Linked DNA regions of Homo sapiens: region 1 is linked to region 2. Evidence: promoter capture Hi-C in human tissues and cell types (Jung and others, 2019). All regions are on one chromosome and are shown on one strand. Each heading gives the region's core, a stretch centred on a gene start or on the middle of the fragment in contact. The rest is flanking DNA. Distances are from core to core; before and after follow the strand shown. Region 1 overlaps MBTPS1 (membrane bound transcription factor peptidase, site 1). Region 2 holds the start of KCNG4 (potassium voltage-gated channel modifier subfamily G member 4).

Evidence for each region. Contacts are between HindIII fragments. The study calls those that stand out against the background at their distance.
Region 1: a contact is called between a fragment that was not itself captured here and the fragment with the promoter of KCNG4 in region 2, in 2 of the 25 tissues and cell types used here (heart left ventricle and mesendoderm cells).

Annotation. Positions count from the first base shown.
Region 1 is chr16:84,087,433-84,090,578 of GRCh38, reverse strand. MBTPS1 (membrane bound transcription factor peptidase, site 1) reads left to right here. Exons shown (of 23, transcript NM_003791.4): 9 at 3,119-3,146. Among named protein-coding and RNA genes, the nearest start is that of MBTPS1, 28 kb to the left of the region's middle. The HindIII fragment of the contact is 3,166 bases long and covers 314-3,146 here.
Region 2 is chr16:84,238,634-84,241,772 of GRCh38, reverse strand. KCNG4 (potassium voltage-gated channel modifier subfamily G member 4) reads left to right here and starts at 1,761. Exons shown (of 3, transcript NM_172347.3): 1 at 1,761-2,103. The HindIII fragment of the contact is 8,358 bases long and covers 1-3,139 here.

The DNA.
Region 1 (3,146 bases), core at 647-3,146, 150 kb after region 2:
TTCCCCAAAAATCAATCAGAAAAGTGAATCTATTAGGGATTCTGCAGTGTTGATGAGATCTGTGTGCAAAGCATCCGGGTAAAGAGGCAAACGGAAGAGGTTTCTGCCTCTCTCTGAAAGAGCAGGTGCGAGCACAGTGACACTCATTCACAGGGGAAGTGCTGGCGGGCCTAACGGCAACATGGCCGGTGCTTTGGGAGTTGATGAGAGGGATCATTTAGGAGGGAGGCAGGGAGGACAGTGTCACAGGGGGGCCTTTGTGCTAAACTTAAGCAGCGTGAGATGCGAAACATTTGCCACTGAATCCCAGCCAGTACGCTCCTGTCTGGTTAGAGGTCTCAGTTTTCTTTCCACCAGCAGCTTCATTTTATTCTCTAGATAATGTTTATAAGTCATTTCTTGTGCTCGAAGTTTCTGTAGGATGCTTTACACAAATCCAGGGCATAAGACAAGGTGAAGCTATGTGAAGTTCATGTTTGCATATCAGAAAACGTGAATATTGGCATTCATAGGACTCTAGCCTAATAGTTGAGTAAATGATCGTGAACCTTGTTAGAGGTCCAGGGTTCTGGATTTTGCTGTCGCATCAGTGATACGTATCATGAGCCATAGATGTAAGTGGCATGAACATACCCTCGCTATAGCTCTGCCATGACAAACACCAGTTATTAAGTCATCTCGTCAGGTGTTCTTGTCTCCCTTTTAAATGTTCCTCCCATTTCTGATGTCCCCACTCAAGGCTGGCACTCATCGGTTCAGAGTCACCAGGTGTCAGTGTTTCCTAGCCTGTTTTCCAATCTTGAGTCTTTTCCCACCCCAGCTCTTCCAGCATGGACATGGGTGAAACTAGGTGTGGAAGCAGACAGGTCCGACCTGCCACTTACGGCTGAGGCACCGTCACTTCTCTGAGCCTCAGCTCCCTCACCTGTGATGGGAGTAGAGAGCAGCCTGCAGAGTACCTATGAGACTGAAATCAGACAGCAGGGGGAGAGCACCATGAATGCTGATGATGCTCTTTGAATGGAAGCTGCTCTTTTTCTTTTTTGTGCGTATTTCTACTGTTCAAACATATATTGTAGCAGTTTTCTAATCAAGAATCTGCAGCAGTTTATTATTGCCTAATAGATGAAATCCACATTTTTCTTTTGTTTTTCAAGGTCTTCAGTATTCTAGGCTGAATTGCAAACTTTTTCTGTAAAGGGTCAGATAATAAATATTTTAGGCGTTATTGTGTGAAAGCAGCTGCGGGTGATATATGTGTAAATGAACATGACTGTGTTCCAGGAACGCTGTATTTGCAAAAACAGGTGTGGGCCTGGTTTGGCCCATGGGCCGTAGTTGGCCAACTCCAGCCACAATCTCAGTTCACCTTGATCTTCCACTTCCCCATGTACACCTTCCTGGAATGAGTGTCCTCCTTCTGTTTCTCTCAGGTCTTCCGCACCCCATCCCTCTGCCCATCCTCCTGGCCATACCTGTCTGGATTCCCAGCTCTTTCGCATGCTGTTCGGACTGTTTTGTCACACGCTGGCTGCCGTTCTGAAACCCTGTGGCTTTTGTGGGTGGTTGCACTCCGTAGCTTCTTACCAGAGTTGTGAGTTTATGGTGTGTTGAAGGAGCAGAGCCTTGCCAGGAAGGCCCCATCTCCACCTTGTGTGTACGCTCATGCTGCCTCACACAGACCTGGCCACCTGCTGGCTGTTGAAGTGACAGAACGTGGCATGTGATCACGGCAGCCCAGCTTGTGGTGGGTGTGGTTTTTTCTGCTTGGGCATCTGGTGGGACTGCTTCCAGGGCTGGTCTGAGGACAGTAACATGCATACGTCAGCCCCTCTGGGAATGAGGCACACATCCTCCGGTCCCCTTTGCTGTGGTCTCTTTGTCTGGGTCCTGTGCCCTTGGTGCTCCTAGACTCTGTGGTGCCAGCAAGCCTGCAGCCTCACGTCCCTCCTTTTCAATACCAGCAATGATTTCTTGATGCGTTCCCTTATTTTTTAAGGGTTTAAAGTACACTAAGCATTATAGGGCTTAGCAGGTAGAGGAGGGTGGGAAGGTGGTATTTTTTTGGTCAACTTCAGTGGGAGTTTCTGTCAGTGACTTCTGTACCAGCCTCTGCTCCTTGAGTTCCTGGGAATGTGTAAACATCTAGCATCAGTCATCAGAAAATCATTATTCGTTCCTCTGAATGACCAGCTGGTAGGATATTGGTGGCCAGTGGGCTGAGGAGGCAGTACCACTTTTTCTCGGTGTGTTGGGAATTGTCAGTTAAAAACACACTCTAGAAGGAGAACTTCATGCTGCTATTATCTCTTAAGCCACTTGGAATCAGTTGTATGTAGTTGTTGATTTGTCAAAGAGTTCATTTTTTTTGGTAGTGGAGCCATAATAAAGCTTAGCAATGCAGTTTTATAACTGAGTGTCTCATATTTTCAAATGGTTCATCTTTATCTTGACTTTACGGTTTACACATTTTTGCCATTATTTATTTCACTATAATTTCTTTGCAGATCTAGTGCACTTAAGGTATTGGAGAGACTCTAAGGAGCTCAAGATTACAGAGTAATGATAGTCCTTCTACAGTTCCCTATGAGGAGGGTAGAACACCACCACAGGTCAATCGAAAACTTACCACTTCCTGACCTTGGCAGATGTAAATGTGTGGTTATGGTTTCTTCCAGGAGAAGTGTGTGATTTAGCTGGGGAGTTAAGATGAATGTGCTGGGAACAATTTGAAAGTGATGTGAGAATGTGTCGTTAGGTGATAAATTGTGATTGTGTTAAGTGTTGTGAGGTTCAAGGCAAGTACAGATGCTTAAGGCTTGGATTGCTGGAGGGAAAACGTGAGCCTTGAGCCCCAGTGTGCCAAGTTGACAGGGAGGAGAAGAAAGGAGGGGCGTTGCAGGTGAGAGGGCGTAATGTGAGCACAGCATGAACGTGGCAGGATCATGCGTTTCACAGGACAGCCGTGAGGAGCTGCACACGTCTTCCCACAGAAGCAGCTCATACAGTGTTAGATTGTTCTGGGAGTATTCGCCCTGGTTTGAATCATCCATTTTAAATTATTTCTCTTGTTTTTTTCTTTTTCTTTTCTTTTTTTTTTTTTTTGGTCTCAATATAGCACTCTGAATAACCCTGCTGATCAAATG
Region 2 (3,139 bases), core at 512-3,011:
GAAGACTCTTCTAAGAGCACCATTGGAGCAGCTGTGGGGTCTGAGGAACACGGGAGTCAGTGGAAGGAGGGAAGGAAACTTCTCCATTACTGGCAGGTGCTCTGGGATCTCTTTGAGTGGCTCTGTGTGGACACTGGACCATGCTGGGCCACAGCCTTTATTGGGGTTACACTTACAGTCTTATGGAGACAGATCAGAGTGCAGCTGCCATGGCTGAGGTAGCAGGTCCAGGGGTTCATCCTCCCCGTTGTCACTGCCCCAGGCCAGGCCCCTCAATCATTTCTGCAGAGCCCTAAGGCTTCAAGCAATACCATTTGAAAACCGCAATACCAGATGGACCTCCATTCAGTCAGTTCTCTTCTCTGCTTGGATTCGTTCCCATTGCCAAGGCCACAGAGAGCCCACCTAGGTCAGCAGCACCTGTCATCCCCTTGCAGGCAGCTGTGGAAGGCTCACCCTCTAATCTCCCTCACTCCTGGATCCTCCCATCAAAACTCAAGCGTCTGTTAAGTGATGGTTCTTTTTTTTTTTTTTTTTTTTTGAGACAGAGTCTCACTTTGTCACCCAGGCTGGAGTGTAGTGGCGCGACCTCAGCTCACTGCAACCTCCGCCTCCCGGATTCAAGCAATTCTCCTGCCTCAGCCTCCCGAGTAGCTGGGATTACAGGCACCCGCCACCATGCCCAGCTAATTTTTGTATTTTTAGTAGAGACAGGGTTTCAGTACGTTGGCCAGGCTGGTCTCAAACTCCTGACCTTGTGATCTGCCCGCCTCCGCCTCCAAAGTTCTGGGATGACAGCTGTGAGCCACCACACCCGGCCTAAGTGATGGTTCTAACCAGCAAGATGACCTTGAGCAAGCCTCTTCTCAGGGCCTCAACTATCAAATGCAGTGAAGATAACACATTCAGAAGCCAAGAGCCTGGGCTGCAAAACCTCTTAAGAAAGTGAAGAACAGTCAACGTGTAGTGAGCAACTACAAGATGCTGGTTTTACAATTGCAGCCATCGCTGGTTTCACTGTCCTCATTTGACTGAGAAACCCAAGGCCCAGAGAGGGGAAGTGACTGACCAAGAACACACAGCCAGGCAGTGCAGAGTCCAAGTTCACACCCAGGCCCTGGACTGATGCCTCTTCCTTTTCACCCACCCAACCATCCAACCAGCACAGGAGCTTGCACTTATGGTTCTGACCTTCCCTGAACCCTCTCTCATTCCCATGTTTTAGAGACAAGACAATTGAGGCTCAGAAGCACTAACTCACCTGGCCAAGGTCACCCAGCCTTTCACATAGGAGCCAGGATCCAGGCATGTGTGTGAATTCCAAGCTCGGAGCTCTTCCTATTGCTGTTCTGTAACACAGCCCCCCTGACTCCCACCCAGCGCTCAGAGCCTGGGCTTCTGTCTGAACCTGTCCCAGGCCTGGGCTGCTTAAAAGCAGCAAAAAGTTCCTCCTGCAGCTTCAACTTGAGCCTGTCACCATCATCAGCATACCCCGAGAGACTCTGGGGTGCCTGGGACAGGTAGCTGCAGATGCCTCCGGCCCCAAGTTGCCCTCTGCTCCTCCCGAGTTGTGCTCCTCCATGCCAGAGGAGGGAGGACAGCTCCCCTTGCCTCCTAGGCGGTTGGCAGAGTGGCAGCGGCTGCTGCTTCTTCCTGCTGCTGGCTGATGGAGAGATTATTTCTAAGCCCTTCCCATTCCACACCCCCCCACACTGGCTGTCCCCGTGGGACTTGAAGTGCAGAGTCCGCTGCTCAACCAGGACAGCTGCCCTGGCTCCCTCCCAGCAAGAACCCCCAGACCCTCATCTCTCATAAGGAAAGGGACTTCTGGGTCCTTTAAAAAAAAAAAAAAATCCCACCTCAATCCCCCAGGGCTCTCCTGCAGCTGCTGGAGAGAGAGATGCAGAATGAATGAACTTCTGGTTTCTGGAGGAGGCACGGGAAGAAAGATTGGAAACTGACTCTGCTAGAAACTGCTGTTTTGGGGATTTTTTTCTTCCCCTTCATCTCCACCAGAAACCTGTCCCTTCCCTGGGCACCAAGAGATGGGCTCCCCTTGCCTGGCAGAGAAACAGCTGGAAACTGGCTCCCTGAGACAAGAAGGTGAGTTAAACTGGAGGGGAAGAGTTACTGCTTGCTGTAGGGTGGGCGGGGGCCAGGGGGAAGTTGACGCTGTTAGACATCCTTGGCAAAAGTGCTGGTTTGAGTGAATTCCTTTCCCGTGCTCCAGAAGGAGCTGTTTGCCAGCTGTTTGGAGAGCCGTAGATGGCAAAATTGGGTTTATTCAGTGAATGCAGAAAGGGCAGTTTTCAGGTTCTGGAAGGAGCCCCAGGCTGGGGGACAGAGTGCTGGGTTGGATTCGGATTTGCTGTGTGACCTTGGACAAGTTACTTCCGCTCGCTGGGTCTTGGTTTTTGCACTGGGAAAATGAGGAAGCTTGCAAAGGGCTCCCCAGATTTCAAAATACTCTTCTCTCTGCAGGCTCCTCATCCTCCTCTGGCCATTCCCTGTGAGCAAAGTAATGCATTCAGAGCAACAGAATGTTGTGTAGGGAGCAAGAGTGTGAAATAGGTTACGATTCACTCTCCACTATCCACCGGAATCCAACCGGCTCTGAAATTGAGAGGAACTTTGATTTCCGTTCCACTGCCGAGTTTTTCTCTTGATTGGAGTGGAGTGCATCTGAAAATGTAAGCTTATAGATGCTTTGGAAATGGCTTTGGCTAGAATGAATAGCATAAGAAATGGTTGCAGGATCTGAAGGTGAGAAATATTATGAAAAGGACTTTTTAAATATGTGAAGTGGCTAAATCTAAAACACTCACACTAAGTCAAGCACCTCATATAGGTCTGAAATGGAGACAGCATTAGAGGCCCCGTCATTTTTTTTTGTTTTTTTCTTTTTGAGATGGAGTCTCGCTCTGTTGTCCAGGCTGGAGTGCAATGGCGCAATCTCGGCTTACTGCAGCCTCCGCCTCCCGGGTTCAAGCGATTCTCCTGCCTCAGCCTCCCGAGTAGCTGGGACTACAGGTACATGCCACCTTGCCTAGCTAATTTTTGTATTTTTAGTAGATACAGGGTTTCATTGGCCAGGCTGGTCTCGAACTCCTGACCTCAGATGATCTGCCTGCCTCTGCCT